Linked DNA regions of Homo sapiens: all the other regions are linked to region 1. The links are contacts of gene promoters, found by promoter capture Hi-C in blood cells and fetal thymus (Javierre and others, 2016). All regions are on one chromosome and are shown on one strand. The core of a region is centred on a gene start or on the middle of the fragment in contact, and the rest is flanking DNA. Distances in the headings are between cores, read along the strand shown. Region 1 holds the start of BEND5 (BEN domain containing 5). Region 2 overlaps FAF1 (Fas associated factor 1). Region 3 has its middle 28 kb from the start of LINC02808. Region 4 holds the start of LOC105378711 (a long non-coding RNA gene). Region 5 overlaps ELAVL4 (ELAV like RNA binding protein 4). Region 6 holds the start of ELAVL4 (ELAV like RNA binding protein 4). Region 7 has its middle 18 kb from the start of ELAVL4.

Evidence for each region. Contacts are between HindIII fragments. The CHiCAGO score rates a contact against its expected background, and 5 or more counts as called.
Region 2: a fragment that was not itself captured here is called in contact with the fragment with the promoter of BEND5 in region 1 in 1 of 17 cell types (M0 macrophages); the score reaches 5.3 in M0 macrophages.
Region 3: a fragment that was not itself captured here is called in contact with the fragment with the promoter of BEND5 in region 1 in 5 of 17 cell types (M0 macrophages, M2 macrophages, M1 macrophages and 2 more); the score reaches 12.7 in M0 macrophages.
Region 4: a contact is called between a fragment that was not itself captured here and the fragment with the promoter of BEND5 in region 1, in 1 of 17 cell types (endothelial precursors). The highest score is 6.9, in endothelial precursors.
Region 5: a fragment that was not itself captured here is called in contact with the fragment with the promoter of BEND5 in region 1 in 1 of 17 cell types (M0 macrophages); the score reaches 6.7 in M0 macrophages.
Region 6: a contact is called between a fragment that was not itself captured here and the fragment with the promoter of BEND5 in region 1, in 4 of 17 cell types (M0 macrophages, fetal thymus, M1 macrophages and 1 more). The highest score is 8.8, in M0 macrophages.
Region 7: a contact is called between a fragment that was not itself captured here and the fragment with the promoter of BEND5 in region 1, in 1 of 17 cell types (M2 macrophages). The highest score is 6.4, in M2 macrophages.

Annotation. Positions count from the first base shown.
Region 1 is chr1:48,775,538-48,778,255 of GRCh38, forward strand. It overlaps BEND5 (BEN domain containing 5), which reads right to left and starts at 1,354. Exons shown (of 6, transcript NM_024603.4): 1 at 1,069-1,354. The coding sequence starts at 1,294. All of the region lies in intron 6 of AGBL4 (AGBL carboxypeptidase 4), which reads right to left. The HindIII fragment of the contact is 5,361 bases long and covers 1-2,718 here.
Region 2 is chr1:50,453,162-50,455,879 of GRCh38, forward strand. The region is part of intron 18 of FAF1 (Fas associated factor 1); the gene reads right to left. The region is part of intron 1 of FAF1-AS1 (FAF1 antisense RNA 1); the gene reads left to right. Among named protein-coding and RNA genes, the nearest start is that of FAF1-AS1, 13 kb to the left of the region's middle. RefSeq lists an enhancer at 1-470. The HindIII fragment of the contact is 1,856 bases long and covers 426-2,281 here.
Region 3 is chr1:50,348,032-50,350,749 of GRCh38, forward strand. No RefSeq gene overlaps it. Among named protein-coding and RNA genes, the nearest start is that of LINC02808, 28 kb to the left of the region's middle. The HindIII fragment of the contact is 1,191 bases long and covers 783-1,973 here.
Region 4 is chr1:50,258,171-50,260,888 of GRCh38, forward strand. It overlaps LOC105378711 (a long non-coding RNA gene), which reads right to left and starts at 586. Exons shown (of 10, transcript XR_947315.4): 1 at 1-586. It overlaps LOC105378710 (a long non-coding RNA gene), which reads left to right. Exons shown (of 2, transcript XR_947314.1): 2 at 1-32. The HindIII fragment of the contact is 2,988 bases long and covers 1-2,718 here.
Region 5 is chr1:50,130,269-50,132,986 of GRCh38, forward strand. The region is part of intron 1 of ELAVL4 (ELAV like RNA binding protein 4); the gene reads left to right. Among named protein-coding and RNA genes, the nearest start is that of ELAVL4, 23 kb to the left of the region's middle. The HindIII fragment of the contact is 1,117 bases long and covers 809-1,925 here.
Region 6 is chr1:50,107,217-50,109,934 of GRCh38, forward strand. ELAVL4 (ELAV like RNA binding protein 4) reads left to right here and starts at 1,704. Exons shown (of 7, transcript NM_001144774.3): 1 at 1,704-1,982. The coding sequence starts at 1,974. The HindIII fragment of the contact is 609 bases long and covers 1,089-1,697 here.
Region 7 is chr1:50,089,644-50,092,361 of GRCh38, forward strand. It overlaps a transcript of ELAVL4 not described here. Among named protein-coding and RNA genes, the nearest start is that of ELAVL4, 18 kb to the right of the region's middle. The HindIII fragment of the contact is 6,186 bases long and covers 1-2,718 here.

The DNA of each region.
Region 1 (2,718 bases), core at 104-2,603:
GTTCATTCTCCTTACCAGCAGGAGCTAAAAAGGCTGCTCCCCAAAACGGAGATGATACTTCCCCCTTCCTTGCTTGTCTAGACTCAAACTTTCTGGAACTAGCTGGGAAAGAGGGCCAGCTGTCTTCTCTTTACAAAGGAAAAGGTGTCTCAGCATGGCAGGAAGAACTGGAGCATAGGAGGATAAAGGGCTGGTTTCTTTCCCTATCACCAACTGAACCTCAGTACCCTCATCTACGAAATGGAGATGAGACTAGCTGCCTTAGCCCATCTCTCAGGGCCCTGGCAGGGCAGGGATGAGAGGTCCAGTGTTATTCTGACCCAGAAACTCTCTCCTGGCCCTCAACTCTCTCATTCAGGGAGCCTTCTGGGAGATTCAGAAAGGGGTGTGGAGGCTGAGGGATGCCTTAGGGCCTCTACCTCCTTACCTCTGCCACCTGGCCAGGGAGGGGCAGGAGAGTGTGGTGTGGAGCCCAGTGCACTGAGGTTCATGGCCTCCTCATCCTGTCCAATGTTGGCCCGGATGGGACAAGGATGTCATAGCTTCCCTCTGTGAGGAGGGACTCCCACCTAGAAGATCTGACAATATCCTTCTTGCTCCTCACTCCAAGGAGGTACCAACAGCCTTTAAAGGGAGAGAGACAGACAGCTTGAGAAACTTAATTCTTGACAGAAAAGAACAGAGGGAAGGAACTGGGAGAGAGGTAAAGAGAAGGTGAGAGAGAAATGACGGTACAAACAGGTAGGGAGAAAAATGGAAAGTGAAGGAACGAAGAAAACACAAAGAATCAGAAAGAGGAGGACAGACACAGATGAAGAGATGAAGACGGACTGACAGCGCGGGAGCTTCGGGGAAGCGGGGAAGACAAAGGGGACCATCCGGTCTTTTTAACTGGCCTGGCCTCTTAGAGACACCCCGTTCCCAAATGAAATGCCCAGAGGACGGGAGAAGGAGGCAGGAAGGAGCAAGCAGTGGCTCCCCCCGGTCCCCTCCGCCCGGGCCCCCGGCCCCTCCCGGGGTCCCAGCCCCCGCCCGGGTCCCACCGTCCCTCCCCGCCCGCTTGCTCACCTGCCAGCGCCAGGATCTGGGCCTTGTGGAGCAACAGCGCGCCCCAGTCGCGGGGGGCGCGCGGGGGGCTCTCGGGCCCGGCGCCCAATTCCTCCGGGCCCCGGTACACGGCGTACACCTTCTGGTTGTCAAAATCCAGCCGCGAGCGGGGGCTGAAGTCGCGCACGCACGACACGGGCAGCGCGTAGCAGACGTTGTCCTCCAGGAACCGCACAAAGGCGTACATGGTGGGCGCCGGGGGCGGGCCCCGGTCGGGCAGCTCAGCCCGCGGGGCGGGCGCGGAGGTGGGGATCCGGCGGGGGGCGCGAGTCTCGCTACGGTGCTGGGGGGGGCGGGGGCGGCTCCCCAGGACCCAGGCTCCCCCCACTGTTATTGTTCCTGAAAGCACCGTTCTGCCAATCGGCTGCTTTCGCCTGGGCGCGGAAAAGGGAGGGAGGGGGGGAAAGGGGGACGAGGGGCGGATGAGGGGGGTTTGGAAGCGCACTGCCACTTGCAAAGTCAGACCCGAGCAATCACAGCCGGAGCGCGATTCGAATGGGGAGGGAAAAGGGTTCAGAGATTCAGTTGCAATAAAAATAATAACAAGAGCATTGCAGGAAAAAAATGCATTGATTAAAAGGTGCGCTGCGTGCAGGATTATATTGCTTCAACAATCGCGCTGCCAAATTGCATTGCAACAAAACTGCATTGCCAAGTAGAGAAGTGTATGAGTGAGTGAATGCGGGATAGGGGTGGGGGCAATCTTGATTGAATCTCAAAGTGTAAACTTGGAAGCCAGCAGAAGTTTGGAGTGTTTTAAATGTAGCCACCCTACCCGCGCCCCCAGCCCCGCACCCTCCCCGCGCCTTTCCCAGCCCTTAGTTTGGCCCCGCCTTTTCTTTGCTTTCTTTCTTTTTGTTTGTTTGTTTGTTTGTTTTGTTCTGCAAAACTGCCAGCTCCCTCTGTGGAAAGGGTCAGTCAGACAGAAAATTTCCCCTAGAGCTGCCAAACCAGTTCTGACCAGAACTGGGGCTTATCTGAGATTTCCAGTTGTGCCAGCTGGCTGGGGAGGTGGAAGGTTTGTCAAGGGCTGCTCTCATCTGAGGGAGCAGTGGCGCCCCTCTCCTCTATAGTCTTTCTCCATTGAGATACCCTCTCCACAGCACGCCCACCACTGAGCAGGGACAACTTGGAATCGCGGAGGGAGTTGAGGAGCGCTCTGGGTAACACAGGCCCAAGGCTAGGGATTTCTGGAGCACTTTGAAGAGTACAGGAATAGTACTCCATGGAATAGCGGTCTTTGCTCTGTCTCTTGCCAAAGAGAGCCTGGAGGGGCTTGGGTCCCCTCCAAGACAAGCCGTGAGGACCAGCCAAAGGGGGCTGATTGGGCTCTGTACTCATAGGAACCCTATCCCACATCAGAGGAGGTCAGTACCTTCACAGGGATGCCTCGTATCAAATATGGCTAGTTATATTTCTGTTGCCTAGCCAGACCTGGCACTTGACAGGGAGTTAATGAATTTTGGGTAAAGAAGAATAAATAAAAACCCACATCCATCCATCCATCCATCCATCCATCCATCCATCCATCCATCCAACCATCCATCCATCTGTTCATTCATTCCTTTATTCAAGCAACCAATATTCACTGAGTTTACACCACCTGCCAGA
Region 2 (2,718 bases), core at 104-2,603, 1.7 Mb after region 1:
TAAGAGCTCAAATACCTTATTAGGTTATCATTTAAACTTCTGAAAAAATCTTTTCTCCTTGGCTTCAGAGAGATCTGGAGTGGTGGGCTACATGTGCTCCTCAGGCCCAGTGGGCTAGGGAGAAAGTGAGCATTTTGAATGAATTTTAATATCCAAGCAGGGCCATGCGAGCTGGTGTGTGCATTGCTCTGCACGCAAACACCACTCAAGAGCTGGGGCTTTGAACAGGAGTTAAAAGAGTTTAGTCCCTAACGACATACAAAAGACTTGCCGGTGTGATTTATTCTGATGTATTTACTTATCCAATTACCAAAACAGCAGGAGATCATTAAATTTTCTAGTTACCAGATGCAGCACGTTCAATATCTTAAATGTTACCAAGGCTCTCTCTGAGCTATTTTGATAGTACATTTCATCTACCCAAAAGCTTATAAAACTGGAAGGCAAGAATCATGAACAGAGCACGTGTTTTCTTTGAAGGCTGGTCCAGCAGCGGCCTGTACAATACCAAACCTATACCCAAAATTCCCAAACTCCTGGGCTTAAGCAAAAGCACCATGATGAGAAAGAAAAGTATTTAGGAAGAGAGGATGCTAGGAAAGTGGTACTTGAAGGTGGCTGGAGATATGCATTTTACCTGGCCAGCCTTTTCTTCATGCGTATTCCCTATCAGTTTAGTTGCCATATCCACAAAGGGTCAGGGCTCAGAGCTGGGGAGGGGAGTCAGAGAACAAGCATCATTTGGGGAACTGCAAACCTGCCTCCTGACCCTAGCATACTGCTCTGATTACCTGTGTGCTCTAGGACAAGTCACTTTTTGTCCTCTGAGATTCCTTGTCTGTTAAACAAGGATGTTGATATCTGTCTGGTGTACCACCTTATGGACCTGCTATGAGCATCATCACAGCTTATCACAGTAACAACATTTTAGAAGTGGCAAAATATTTTCTCTCAAAAAATACATCAAATAAGTGAAATCTGGGTCTAAATTTTCGAACAGGGGGTAGGGGCTTGGCCCCAACATTGCTTACTATGCTGATCTCTAAATATTATCCTCTCATAGACCCTATGTGCCAGACAATTAGAGCAGTTTGCTATTCCTCAAATATGTCTTGTGCTTTTCCTCCCTGAACCTTTGCTATGTTGTTTCCTCCACCTAGACTGTCCTCCCTCTCCAGTTCTACCTGTCCCAACCTATATGTCCTTCAAGGCTCAGCTCAGATGCTACTTTCTCCATAAAATCAGGCCTGAGTGACAGAGCCTAAATTAATCTTTCTCCTATTCCTGTAACAGAGTTAATCATAGCTGGAATCATTCACTAGGCCATCGGCTCATGGAACACAGTGACCATATATGTTCATTGTGGTCTCTCCCTCATATGCCTATCCCATTATCCTGCATGTGGTCAATCCATGTTTACCGGACTAATACCTTTATTTCACCTTAGGATCCTCAGACAAGGCAGTTGCCAAGGTCTGCTGGCTGACATAAGGTCAGTGTTTAAAGTGGAATGCAGGTACTGGCAATGCCAACCCTGTCTTTTGCTAAAACAGCATTCTTATACTTTGACCAGGCAAGAGATCCTAGAGGATCTAGCTCAAGGGATCAGCCACAGTTTCACACTGAGTTATCTGTTGTGCCTTTTGATTATTTGTTTATGAGTCTGTCTCTCCAGCCAGGTTGAATTCTGAGGGCACATAAGAGATTTTACTGGCTACCTATCCCCAGGTCCTAGCATACTGCTGGAAACAGTGTAAGTTCACTACATGTTTGCTGAAAGACTGATCTACTGAATGACTAAATGGAAACTCCCCACTCCTCCCTAGAGCCTCCATGAATTCAAAGAAATGGAGTCTAGAGGAGCTGCATCCTCAGACCTCTTCCCCCAGCCTCATTCCTACAGCAGGCAGACTCCGTTGGTGATACCATCAGCAGGTCATTCCAGCAGCTCCCTTGGCTCTGGAAGCTCTCTGGCTCTAGCTTCTGTCAGTTCTGCTACACAGATACAGGGGCTGACAGTAAGTCTGCATCAGTTGCCCTTTCAGAGGGGACAGAATTTTCCCTAAACTGCTGTTGGAATTGGCTAATTAGAAGGATTTAAAAAATCTTAATACTCTAAACAGAGAAAACTGGTTCTGAATTATTAAGCAACATTTTCAATGCATTTGAATAACCTTAGGTGACTTAGCTGCCACCTGATCCTAAGCTCTAGCTCAGATAAATAAATGTGAAATATTGTCAAAGCCTTGGCTTATAGAAGCCTCCAGCTACAGTAAATAAAAGCTTAACTCCTCATAAACTGCCTGGGACAGAGACACTGTCATATAAAAGGAAAGAAGATGATCTTAAATAAAGCCAGTAGGACCAGGAAGCCAATGGTTTTGTTCTAGTTTTCGGAAGAGAGTTGTCAATGGGGCATGTATTATCAACATCCAGGTCATTTAATCACAGAATCACATAATATCAGAGCTGAAAGAAAATTAAGAAAACACTTAATCTCTTCATATTTTAGATAAAGAAAAAAAGACCCAGAGACGTATGTACCTTGCTTGAGATCACATAACAAGTGGCTAGAAGAATTAAAATTTTGCCCCAGGAGACATGGTTCCCAGCTTAACCCCCTTCCTACTGCACTACATTCTTCTCACTTTTGTTTTTTTGATTAAAAAAATTTTGGGGGCCAGGTGCATCACTTGAGGTCAGGAGTTCGAGACCAGC
Region 3 (2,718 bases), core at 128-2,627, 1.6 Mb after region 1:
TGACAAAGAGCTGAGAGAAAAGTTTTCCCACGTCTTGTATCATAGTTCCATCTCACCAAGTAGATCACGAGTTCCTCAGGGGCTCCCCGTTGCAGACAGAAGAAAACCGCATGTCCTTAATGTGGCATTCAGGCTCCTTTGTGACTTCCAGCCTCCTCTGACAATCACATCTTTCATCTCCCACCTATTCCTCTACCACACCCGGCTACTCACCATCCCTCAAAACTGCATCATAATAATTGCTGCCTTCATTAAGCAACTGGTCTCTGGTACTGGGTACATCCCTGGGTCATTTCATTTAATCCTCACAACGGCCCTTCAACTTAGGTGCCAGTATTTCCTCTAACAGATGGCGAATTAGAGGCTCAGAGAGGCTGAGTGACTTGCTTAAGATCACACAGCTAGACCCAGACTTTAAATCAGATCTCTTTGATCCCAAAGCCAGGCACTTTCCAACATATTGCACTGTTCCACCCTCCAAGTGCTGCTTGGATAAACATTTCCAAAGCACCCACTCGGTGCTGGGCTCTGTGTTAGGCACTGGGGGTACAGATGCAATCAAACCCCACTCCCAGTCTCCAGGACTGATGATCTGGCCAGAGAGAGGTCAGGGCTGAGGCACGGTAAGGGTCCCTTGTCAGGGGTTAATGTCAGTGTCAGGGTTCCAGAGTCTGGACCTCTGACCCTCGGAGCTGATCTCAGCAAAAAGGTTGGGCCTGGACCAAGTGATGGTGCAGGTGGAGTTGAGAAATCCTTCCCCAGCCCCCTGATCCTGTGAGTCAAGCTTGGCACGGGTTTCAGGTTGCTGCTGGGTTAAAGTGCTGGCCTTTTCCATTAGTCAAGTCTCTGCTGCCCTCTAGTGGTACATACAGAGATGACAGGGAAGAGGCTTCCCCAAGAAAGAAAGAAATCTCTGATAACTCCACTCTGCTCAGCCTAGGGTCTGCGAGCTGGTTCCCAAGTTTGTGAATAGACAGACCTGGGTTTGAGCTTGCAGTTGTGCAGGGGTCAGTCTGCTTCACCAGGAAAGTTGCTCAACTTCTCCCAGATCATACAGTGAGCACAAAAATAACCCCAGACAGAGCCCTGCTAAGACTGAGCCATGACTGTGGTCATAGCCTGAGCCTGACCTTGGCCATAGACTGAGTTATAACTTTGTCTAGAGACTAACCCCACCTTCAGAATCCACCAAACATATGCTGTTCCCCTTGCCTGCCTCCCGGGAGCCCTTTGGCAGCATTCTGCAGCCCTGGACCTCCTGAGGGCCTCTGGGCCTCTCCCCTGCTCTTTTCTCTCAGCTGACCCCACTGCTCCTTCCCCTGTTGCCTGGGTGACCCCTGGTGGATCATCTGAACCAGCACTTACAACACCCTGCACCCCTGCCCTCTTAGTCCGCGGCCCAGTGACCCACACCCCCACTCCACCATCTATCTGCTCAGCTCCTGTGCTGGCTGAAGTAGGCTTCCCTGCTATGCAGAAGGCTCCAGCACACCTGGTCCACCACAGCAGGGCCCCCACACTGCCCTACTCTTGGCTCACTCTCTAGAAGCACTTCCTCCCATTCCCCTTTCAAGATGCCTGCACCACTCTTCTCCAGCTCATTCAGCCCCACCTGCTATGCTCACGTCTCACTACAATGGGAAGATTGAGGCATCAGGCTGGAAGCACCCCACACTCCCCTCACACACTATAAACCACTCCTGCCGCCTCCCCTTCCATCTTAGAAGATAAGCATCCCTCCTCTGTCCAAGTCCAGCCTGTCCCCAGTGCCTGGACCCTCAGGGAGCACACATCAGCCCCTCTCAACTGGGCATCATTAACATCTCCCCTCAATCTATAAACATCCTCAAGTCTCTTCTGCCCTAAAGAGAAAGAGAGAGCGAGAGCGAGCGAGCAAGCGAGAGAGAGAGAGCCTCCCTCAACCCTTTTCCCTTGAGCTTTACCAGTGTCCTCCTTATCCCGTTTCACAGTCAAGCTTCCTCCAGAAGTATCTACCCTCATAGATGAACTTCCTCATTTGCGCACTTTCTCTGAATCACCTGCAGCCTGACTTCATCTGCATTCACCCAGCACTGTTCTCAAGGTCCCCATGCATCCTCATGTTGCAGTGGACTCTTTTCCATCATTCCTTATCCTGGTTGCATTTGCAACCACCTTTCCTGATTTTCCTCCTGCTCCTCAGTCTTTTTGCAGGGCCCTCTTCCCCTCCCCACGTGAGAGTAACATGCCGGTGGTCCCCAGGCTTCCATCCTAGGCCATTCTCCTTCCACCTAATTTCCTTGGGAGATCTTGAATATTTGCATATTAGTTGGGACTCTTGCTGGTAGGAACAGAAGCCCCCTGAAGTCAGCTGAAACCAAAAGGGATTATAAGACTATAGGAAATCTCAAAATCCCAAGGACAGATGGTCTGTGATATGGAAAGGAGGCAGGGAAGTGCTGGGTAGAGAGGGGCAGGGTCCCTGGTGAGGGCTCCACCCTCAGGCCTGTGCCCACAGACCTAAGTGAGGACAAGCACTCCTGTTTTTGCGCCCAAATGTTGCATTTTCCAAGACCAGTCTGGCCCATCACACCCCCCATCCTGTGCCCATTAAAAACCTGGGACCACAGCAGGCACACCCACAAGCAGCTGGACATCAAGAGGAGCAGAAGAGCACACCAACAGACACCAGCAGACACTACAGGCCGTTGAGGCAGGATGATGCAGAATTCGATCGGG
Region 4 (2,718 bases), core at 162-2,661, 1.5 Mb after region 1:
CATTATGACTTTCATTACACATTTCCCAATGAGCTTTGTTTGGTTATTTTACTTGTGTTTCTATTGACAGGGCATAGGATGAAACACCTTCTAATTACCTCTGAATATCTTTACTGGTTATCTATGGCTGTGTACAAACCATCCAAAACTCAGTGGCTTAACACACCCATTTACAGAGGTCATGATTCTGTAGGTTTGTATTTGGGCTATCTTCAGGCAGGCAGTTCCACTGCTGATCTTGGCTGGGCTCATTCACTTTGTGTATAGTTTTGAGTCAGTTGGGAAGCTCTGCTTTGGAGATAGGCTGGCTATCAACTCTGTGGTTATGGGTATCAACTGAGCCATGTGTTTTTTATCATCTAGGAGGGTAGTCTGGGCTTGAGCACATGATGGTAGTCTCAGTATTCCAAGAAGAGCAAGAGATGTAGCTGCAATGCCTCTTGAACTAGGCTTATAACTCACCCAGTGTCATTTATATTATTGGCCAAAGCAAGTCACAAAGCCAGCCTGAAATGCACTCCACCTCATGATGGGAGAATTTGCAAAGTGCTGTGGCAATTTTCCCAATATGCTTCAAGGTGTATAAACTTTCTTCCATTAATCCTGGCATATGCAAGGAGGAAAGAATGGAAAACATTCCAAAGAAAGTTTTTGTTATTGTTGTTATTTTCTATAACCATAACAAATACTGGAAGCATGATGATTCCCTATTGTTTACACATTATCATTATTATTTATTGAGCACCTCATATGTGCCAGAGACCAGTCAAATAACAATGAAAAAGATATACACAGTACTTGTTCCCATGGGGCTTACAGTCTGATGGAGAAAATATATTAAACAAGTAATTCCAATAACTTGATAAGTATTATGTCTAAAAATTTTATAGCTTTATTAATTTTTCCTTTATGTTTTTGTCTTTGGAGTCCTGAGTTTTAAAGGCTTCTCTGGATTAAATAAATATTAATTTCTATAAAAGGGCTTTTGAAAGTTGCACCCCTAGCAGGAAGCTCTTTTACCTTGGGATGCCCAGTGAGCAAACCTGGGCCCAGCCAGAAATTTAAGAACAAAGGAGAGAAACCCCAGTTCATCTCCAGACCTAGGCTTTCACCCTTTCTGGAAAAAACCAATACTGTGCTCTTTTCACATTGTGTCCTCACCCCAGGTGATCACCCTTCTACAGAGGTTAAAGGCCCTACTCCATCAGCTTAGGCCTGATATTGACACCCCAATTCCAGGCTGTTTTCTGTTGCCCAAGCTCCTGTTGGGCCCCTACCACAGGTGCTTTAATGTACAACCTGATGGATATTTAGAGCTCTCAGAAGCATTTGACTGGACTTCATTCCAGTATATACATACATACATACATACATACATACATACATACATACATAGCGATGATAGATAGATAGATAGATAGATAGATAGATAGATAGATAGATAGATAGATAGATGATAGATATAGATAGATGATAATAGTTTTCTTTTTTTTCCATTTAACATTGTATTCGGAATCTTGCCCTATGGTGTTAAACAAACCCACCCTGGGGGATATATCATGGATAAATGTATATTAAAATATCCTAAAAGAGAAGCTGTTTGTCCAAGCATCTCTCCTTGGAGGGCCTCTCTACCCCATCCACCCATTGCAACTGGGTCAGCTCGGCACTGGGCATAGGGGTAAGCCCCACTCTCTCTTACTCACTCCCTCCACTTTTCTGGGCATTGGGTTAATATTTCCTTGAATCACAGTGGTAAGATATGAGACATACATTTGGGCATTGGTGGCCTGCTGTGGTGTGGGGAAGTGCAATCCTAATGAGCTAGGGGAAAGGCGCATGCCCAGCAGCCCAGCTCAGCTCCCTGGGGTTCTTGGTGCTAGGCATTGGAATGAAAACCTCAGTTTAGAGTAAAGCATGTCTGCGCGCTCCAGTTGATTTGCTAGTCCCCACCCTGTGCAGTAATATCCTTAGAAACATTGACAGGAGAAAGGGAAGAAAAGGAGGCTTCACCATAATGGGATTCAGCTGGTCTTGGGTCCCTCAATCATAGCACCATCTAGTAGCAAACTGGTCTTACAAATATTTCCAACATTCAGCATGGAATGCTGTAAGGGGGAAGCCCACTTCATTCATTTATCTGTTCAATAAATATTGTCTCTTATGTGTGGCGCTCTTCTAGATTCTGGGGTTGCAACAGTAACTGAAACAGACCTAAATCTATGCCCTCCGAGAGTTTGCATTCTGGTGAGGGGCTGAACATAAAATGTGTAAGAAGAAAAACAAGGGAAGCAATAAGCAATGTCTTGGGTGGTAGCTTTAGATTGGGTGGTCAAAGAAGGCCTCATGGAGAAAGTGACATCTGAGCAAAAACTTGGGGGAGGTGAAGGAGAGAAGGGTGCAGGAAAGCAACACAAAAATAAACAGCAGAAATGAAGAAGGGGGCAGAGGTATATCACATGTGAGCCCAGAGAAGAACACCTAAGCCTATTTAAGGAATCTTCCCAGGGAGATGATTGCTGAGAGGGTACTTCAGGGATGAGTGGAAATTTGGCCAGCAGACACAGGCACAAGGGCATTCTAGCAGAGAAAAAAAGTGTGTGCAAAAATACAATGAAGCCATGAAACATGTCTCAGCTGTGAACCATGAAACCCAGACCCAGAGGGGTTCAGCAACTCAGTCAAGGCCACTCAGTAATAACAATAAAACAAACTAAT
Region 5 (2,718 bases), core at 117-2,616, 1.4 Mb after region 1:
CTTAGAGATTGAAGAAAGGGCACAAATTTGGTTTCAGCCTTGGGTTCAAGTTACAGTCCTAGTTAAGTGACAGTGGACTCTGCCTGAAGACTCATTACTCCATCATGTGTAGAGTGACAGCACTTCTACATCTGTAAATGAGAGGAATGACAATACCCACTTCTCAAAGTTGTGTGAGAATTAAGTGAAGTGATGTATGTAAAGACACCTCTCACCATTTCTTATTAGTACCATTGGAAGGACTTAATGATAATTACTTGCCTAAATATTTTCCTGTGTAACTCAAAGCACTTTTTAATCAGCATTATAACAGGATTTCCCTTTACTGAGTGTTTGTCATATTCCAGGCACTTTGTATGTACTTTTTCCATTACTACACTTATGACATTAGACAGTAATTTCTTATTTACTTATTTATTTACTTCCTTGCAGGCAGGAACTCTTTCTCTCTCCTTCATATCTCTGGCATTCAACATAATGGTTTCTGGCCCATCGAAGGAACTCATTAATGTTAGGAAACTTAGCTTGGCTTTTGTTCCTTCTTTTGAGAGCTAACTTCAGTTTGGGGGAGGGGCTGCTCCAATGAAGTACTAAATTAACATCATTAAATTGTGTCTCATAACTTGCCCTCAAATATATACCTGTAACTAAAGAAATTTTAGATTGCTCTAATTGACAATGGATGATTCTGAATATGTGTTAACATTTTACTTTTTAAAAAAGGTAAATTTCTGGGATAAAAAGAATATATTAAGAGTTGCAAGAGTTTACCAAACAAATTTTCTTTGTATCTGTGATTCAAAGGACAAGCTTACCCTACTCAGAAAAGTAATGTTTTAGTTTCAAAATACATGTATTATATCCATTTGATAAATATACATGATAATATACATGTATCATATACTAAATATTCTTAGGGACATAGTAAATTAATTCTAAAAGGGTCTTATCTGAGAATTGTAGATTATGCAGCTTGAATTATAATACAAATGTAATTTTTGAAATTTTATCATGTCTTTTTTATAATTTAAAAGTTTTATTTTTGATTTTTAAAAATGCCAACTTGACTTTTGCCCAATTAGTGAGTGTGACCTTTCAAAAGCATATTTTGAAAAGGCAAAAGATTGTGAAGACAGAAATACTAACTTATTTATTCTCTTATAATCTAAAATTCTATTTTTATGTGGCAAATCATAAAAATACATACAGTAGGAGTTTTTTTAAAAAAATAGAACAATGGGCCGAGTGCGGTGACTCACACCTGTAATCCCAGCACTTTGGGAGGCCGAGGAGGGCTGATCACAAGGTCAAGACATTGAGACCATCCTAGCCAACATGGTGAAAACCTGTCTCTACTAAAAATACAAAAAAATTAGCTGGGCTTGGTGGCGCATGCCTGTAGTCCCAGTTACTCAGGAGGCTGAGGCAGGAGAATCACTTGAACCTAGGAGGCGGAGGTTTCAGTGAGCAGAGATCACAGCACTGCACTCCAGCCTGGGGACAGAGCAAGACTCTGTCTCAAAACAAACAAACAAACAAATAGAACAATGAAGAAAGTGAAATTAAGGGAAACTAAGAGGATTTTAAAAAGATAAATTCAGAAGTAAAATTTATGTTTAAAAAAAAAAAAAAAACCAGAAGTTTGCAGTGAGGTCCCATGCTCTTTACACACAGAAAACTATAGATTTGGCACCCATTTTCCTAATATTGAAAACAAAAGCAAACCCATCATGCAGAGGACAGAGAATATTAGTGGTTTAATGTCATAAAAAGTGCTTGCCTCAGAGCAGACGTAAGTATTCCGATACTTGTGATTTCTGGATTTTGTTTGTTTTTTTCCATTTCTACTTTGCTTGCTTCTTGTTCATGATATTTTTAATCGATACGTATTAGAAGGATGTTCAAATGCAAGAAAGAGAGAGAGAAGCTTAAAAAGCGTGGTATGGAATGCCACTTGACAGTGTCATACATTCACAAGATGTCCTTGAAGATGGAGCACAGAACAGAGATCAGGGAAATTTTGTCAGCTGCAGTTGGGAAAATAAATGGCTGTTGTGTGATTGGGCAGATCCTGAAAGCAGACTCCTGCTCAAACCATGTAATTAACAAAAGTGGGAGCTTTTGTCCAAGTGCAAAATGTTCATAATATCAGAGTTTGTCAGCAGGAGCTTTTAGAACGGATCAGTACTTTTCACTCCCTGATCCAGGGAATGGTTTTCTTATAAATCATCTTCTCTCCTTGCTGTCCTCATGAAGGTTGCTGCCGGGCGATAGGCAGACTTAAGATTGTAACCTTGCTAATTCACAGTGATTTAGGTGAAGGGGAGACTGAACCAGAGACTGTTTCTAGAAATGTGATTTTTATTCATTTGGGCTCCCATGAGTACTCTAATGTAGGAACAAACAGAGTGTGTCCAAGGAGAGATCCTACAGGATAGCTCTGGGGAGGAGACAGAATCATTTTTAATACTGTGACTCCAAACTGGTTTGAAGGACTTGACATTTTCTTTCTTTTTTAAAAAACAACTTCCTTTCAGATTATAAAACTGCTGTATTCTCACTGTAAAAACAAAACAGAGTTGACAAATAAAGATGGAGAAAAGTGTAACAATCACCTGTAATTCTGCCATTTATTCTAGTGTTTTTTATTTTTCCCTCCTACTCTGTACTTGTTTATATAATTGAGATAATCAATCTTTTATTTCACTTCTTTTTCTA
Region 6 (2,718 bases), core at 143-2,642, 1.3 Mb after region 1:
TGACTCACAGGACATTTTATACATTTGCTAAAGAAATTACTTTAAAAGTTTACTTAACTGAGTATTGTTCCACCTTAAGGAATTATAGTTTTAACATTTGTACTTTTCTATTTCATGTATTTTCATTTCTAATAGCTGAACGTATTCATACTCAAGTCTAATGGATTATGCAGTGTACCCAACACATATTGTTTTATGATGTATCTGTATTTTCTGAAGTGTGAATATATATGTATGTTTATATGTGTGTGTTCATGAAACAGCATCTTGGACAGAATAGTTTTAATCTTGAAAAATGTAAGGTTATTTTCTTTCCTAATAATTTTTCACAAACCCATTTATTCTTGGACTTTGAAACCCAGAAATATAGCTTATTTTTTGGTCTGTATGTCTACTCTGCCTAGTTCTGTCTCACTGTCAACTCTAGTCAAAGATTAAAGATTACATTGAATTTTGTATTTGGTAATATGTGTTACCACTGTGTATTTATTGAAGAACAAATTGATTAAATTATGAGTTAAATAAATAGTGACACATTAGTCTTTTGCATAGGTGTGAAGCATGAACTTCTCAGGTAAGCCACTTAAAAAACCCAAACCAGAACAAAAAATACACTACTGAAGGCTTGGTAGTGTAGAGGTTGTTAAATGTGTAAATAGGCAGACAAACTGTATACCTCACCATACACTTGCTAAATGTCTCTTTGCAAATCTCTTAAGAGGCCAAAGAAAAAAAGACATCCCTTTGAAGGAGAGAAGCAAAATCACTTATTTAGTTAAGCAAAATGAACACTCTGCACAGGTTTTGAAATGAGGCTGTTGTCAAAAGCATGTTTTACCTTTCTCTAAAGGGGTAGGAGAATGTGTTTTAGTGGATTTTTAAAAATTCAGATCATGTTCCTATCCAACTTGAAAAATAAATTCATTTAAGTAAATCATTCATCATCCTCAGTTTTGAAAAGCTCAGACAGAAGGCAGAAAGGTAGAGGCTGACAGCTGCCCCTCCCTTACCCCCACCATTTTTTTTCTTTTTGTTTATTAGGAAATAGTTTTCTGAGACAAACTTGTATGAACCTAGTTCACGGAGCAAGCTTAATCCCCAACTTGCTTGCTTTTGAAATGTTGGCCATGTTAGCTGGAGAAGGAGCATTACTTACTAAAAATCAGCAATATCTGGAAATAATAAAGTTAAATTGTAGATGAATTAGCACATTAAAGTGCTTTTGTTGTACCTTTAAGCCTACAGGCAGATCATTAAATATGCATTTCGCTAGAAAGCAACTGTCTAGAAAGATAAGGTGGTTGAAAATATTCTACGGTGGAAAAGCCCTCCATCAGAGAGGTGGCACGGTTCGGCCCTCAGGATGGGAAAAGAAGGACCCTCCCACTGTTAGTTTAGGTTTGCAAGCCTCCAGTGACCTGCAGTTGTTACAGTACTTTTGAGCTGGGAGGAGGGAAAAGGTAAAAATACAAGTATGGCTGTTGTTGCTTCAGCCGGGCCTTAATTACCAGACACAAGAAGCAGTTCAGAAATCTGGTCTCTGTTGTTGTAGAGGTCACCAAATCATTAACATCGTCAATCTGGCAGTAGCTAATTTAAATAGCACCTGATGTTGCAACGCCTCCCTTCGTTTCCCCAGCCAATCAGATCCAGGCTTCGGCTGACAGATGGTCCCATAAATGGATGTAAAAAGGGGAAGCTTCGAGCCAATTTCAGCAAGGCTCTGTTCAGTTGTTCTTATCTACATCCTAGAATCGGGGGTTTCAGCTCACTGCTCCTTTTCTTTTTTTTCTTTCTCTCCCCCGCCCACCCCCCCAAAAATAATTGATTTGCTTTACAATCATCCACACTGTGTTTTGTGGATCTTTAATTATATATAACAATAGTAGTCATTTTAAATATATATTCTGAAATCTTTGCAAATTTTAACAGAAGAGTCGAAGCTCTGCGAGACCCAATATTTGCCAATAAGAATGGTTATGGTAGGTATGACTAGATTTATAATCTGTTGTTTGTGTTGCTGGAGGGAAGAAAAGCATCTACACCTTGACCAGTCTTATGCTTGCACAAGAGTTTAGTTCTGTGCTGCTGTTTGGTTCCTACATTTACTATCTCTTTTGTGTAGAGAGTGCGGGTAGGTCCTTTTATTGAAAAGCAATGGGGATATAAGATTGTCATTTTTAGCAAGTCGTTGTCAGTTTTCCCTTCAACATAAAGGCAAGGGGTGGAGGGGGAGGGCTGAAATAATTGCTGGTTTATTGAAAGAGGTTATATTACTTGAGACATAATGGCAAAAGAAGGGTTTTCTTTTTTGTAAGGGAGAGGGGGTTTGTCTACGTGCCTGGGTTTTGTGGGGCTGGGGGTGGATGCAGCGGGGTTAGGAATCTCTCAATTTCCGTGCTGGAAATTTAAACCTCGAGAGGCAGCTCCTGGATACTGAACACTGAGATGGGCAGTTGTGTTTCGGGGGACTGCGCAGTCAAAACGGCAAAGAGAGTGATTTATTTGGGCTTCAGTAAATGCTGCATCTTGTATTTCAAAGAGTTTCCTGTCATGACCTCATAAAAAAGAGGAGGCGGCTTGTATGTGTAGCAGTGCCTGGCGTGTTGAGTTGTTGCTTCCTTCTCTGGGCAGCAGCTCTGTAAGAAGGAATGTCAGCTTTTACATAACGTTCCTTTCCGCTTTTGACACACTGTGTGAGGGTCCATCTTCTTCTGA
Region 7 (2,718 bases), core at 154-2,653, 1.3 Mb after region 1:
ACTCAGGAGGCTGAGGTGGGAGGATCACCTGAGTCCAGGAGGTTGAGGCTGCAGTGAGCCATGATTGCACCACTGCACTCCAGCCTGGGCGACAGAGTGAGACTTTATCTCTAAAACAAACAAACAAAAAACAAAAAACCATCTTTCTAACCCTTTCTGTTTTTAGCGTGGGCTTGGGGAATGAGGTGTATTTTCTCAGTGATACCATCAGGGGTGGGAAGGATAAGGCCAAGTACAGTGGGAATACAGACGGTTCCTAGGGTCACCTGCAGAAGAATAGCCAGATGGGGAAACTCAACGCCTAAGAGATTCAGATGTTTAAGAGTCATGTAAAAGCCTCAAAAGCATTTGAGGTCCCAACATGTAAAGTATAGGAATTCTCAGGTTGGTATTTGGGCATCAGAGAGTTGGGTGGAGGTTGTAAAAAGGTCTGCCACAGAGGACAGTTGGAAGGTTCTGGTGCTGAAATCAGTGGGGAATGACAGAGGCTAAACAGGCTCAGGCAGAGGTTATGTATGACAACTGAGTCTCTTTTTTCCTCCTGTTAAAAAGTTAGTGATTTTATCTATCTCAAGTTTGTTGTAAGCTATAAATGAAACTCTCACATATAAAAAGACTAGTCCTTGAAAAAATCCCCACCTCTCCTTTCTCCTACCCCCTTCCTCTGCATTCTCACACTACTCTTTTTCACTTTTCAGAAGCCAGTAGTGTAGAGAAAGAGCTATTCTAAAATATTCTATACAATGTGTGCCACTAGGCTTCTAAGGGAGATGGTGATGTAGTAACTTTCAAGACACTTAGTCTAGTATTGCAATTGAAAAAAAAAATTGAACAGTATATATTAGTCAGAATAGGCCAATTACTGTAACAAACAACCCTGAAATCTCAATGGTTTGACACAGTCAGGGTTAGCTCTTGCTCATTTCACAGTTCAGCATGGGTCCATAGGATGCTATACTCCACTCAGTCATTCAGGGACCCAGGTGCCTCTCATCTAGTGGCTCTGTTCTCCTTTAGGGCCTCAGAGTTCTCCTTTGTACCCTTTGCATCTACTTGGTAGGCAAAGGAAGAGAGAGAGTGAAGATGGCACATCATAGAGAAATTGTTAGAGACTAGTCTTAAAAGTGATGTGCATCACTTCCACCCACATTCCAATGGCCGGAGCTCAATCACTCAGCCCCACTGTATTCTAGCTGTATGGCTAGGCAGAAAAGGAAATAGGACTGGGTGGACACTTGGCAGTCCCTGCACCGCAGTCAGAGGTAGCCCAAAATGAGGCAAATTATTGGAAAAGTAGTGAATGAGCTCCCTTTCACTGAAGGTATGTAAGCAGAGTCCAGTGACCCCTTATTTTCCAAGTCCTACTGGAGTAAGGTGGGGGAAATTTAAGCTAGAAGAATGCAGAGGACCTTTCTATCTTTGAGGTTCTCTGATTCAGTAAAGCAGAAGGGAATTGGAGCTGAATTACCCATCTGAATTTCCGGTGACTTAAACTGAGTTCTTGGAGTAGAAATAGAATGTTGAATTTCATTTCATGAATTGTTCTTCCAGCTTGACGTATTGGAGATTTTTAGCACGCACGCTCACACCTGGCTGCTCGCCACCTTCTGCCATTGCAGATACGCTTACAGGAAACCGTAAGTGGATCTGCTTTTGATGCTGGCAGCGTCTTACTAAAATGCTTTTGCTGGCATCATGGAACAGGAGCAGAATTCAGCTGGGACCAATAATGAGGCTATTTAGAAAGTTCTCTCCTCCACCCCCTGACAAGGCAGATGTGGTAGGGATTTTTCCACTCCCATTCTGTCGATGGTGGCCAAAATTAGTTCAAGGCCATCAGAAGTGTTTAGACCTCAAGAGTTGAAACCCCAGACCCATAAAGAGGACAAATCCTCTTCCTCACGTCTAGCAAGAGAAGAAGAAACTCACCCCCAAAGACTCCCAACACAGAAATTTGTCACCTATTGTTCCGTAACAGACTTTAAAAAGGCACAGCCATGTGTCAGTTTGGAAGGAAAAGAAGCACTGACCTCCATTAAAAATATCTCCAAGTAAGTTAAAGTTGCTAATGCTTTCCTTTTCCTGAAACCATGTTGTATTGAAACAACATTTTCTTCTAAGCACTTTCACTTCTATCATCTCATGTTAAAATCCCCAGCCATTGTAGTGTGAGGTAGGGATGTCATGTTTTATCCCCATTTAATAGATGAGACTTCTTGAGGTGCAGAGAGATTAAGTGGCTCGCTTAAGGTCTGTGAGACATGTATGCAAGATGAGTACCCAAATCTCTATACTTCCAAACTCTTTCGCCTAGACCACACAAGATTGTATCAGCTGATGGGTTTTTTGGCCATTCTAGTTCACTGTAACTGACTCTGTCCATCTGTTGATCCATTAATCCATCTGTCCATCCACAAACTGTACCAGGCATTGTGCTTCAGATACAGAGATAAATAAGGGTCTTTGCCTTCACAGCTTAGTAGGAAAGATGGAAATAGAGATAAATAAATGATGGATACAAGTACATATATAGACAAGTTATGATGGGTATATGTGTGGGGAAGGGCCAGGATTGGAAACACAAAAAGAGCATGGTAAGTTCTTCCTTAGAAGGTCAGGGATGATGTCACAAAGGTGACATTTGAGCTGAATCTTATAGGTGTATGACCATCAGACACACAAGGGGTCGGGGGCATCCCAGGCGAGACACCAACTTGT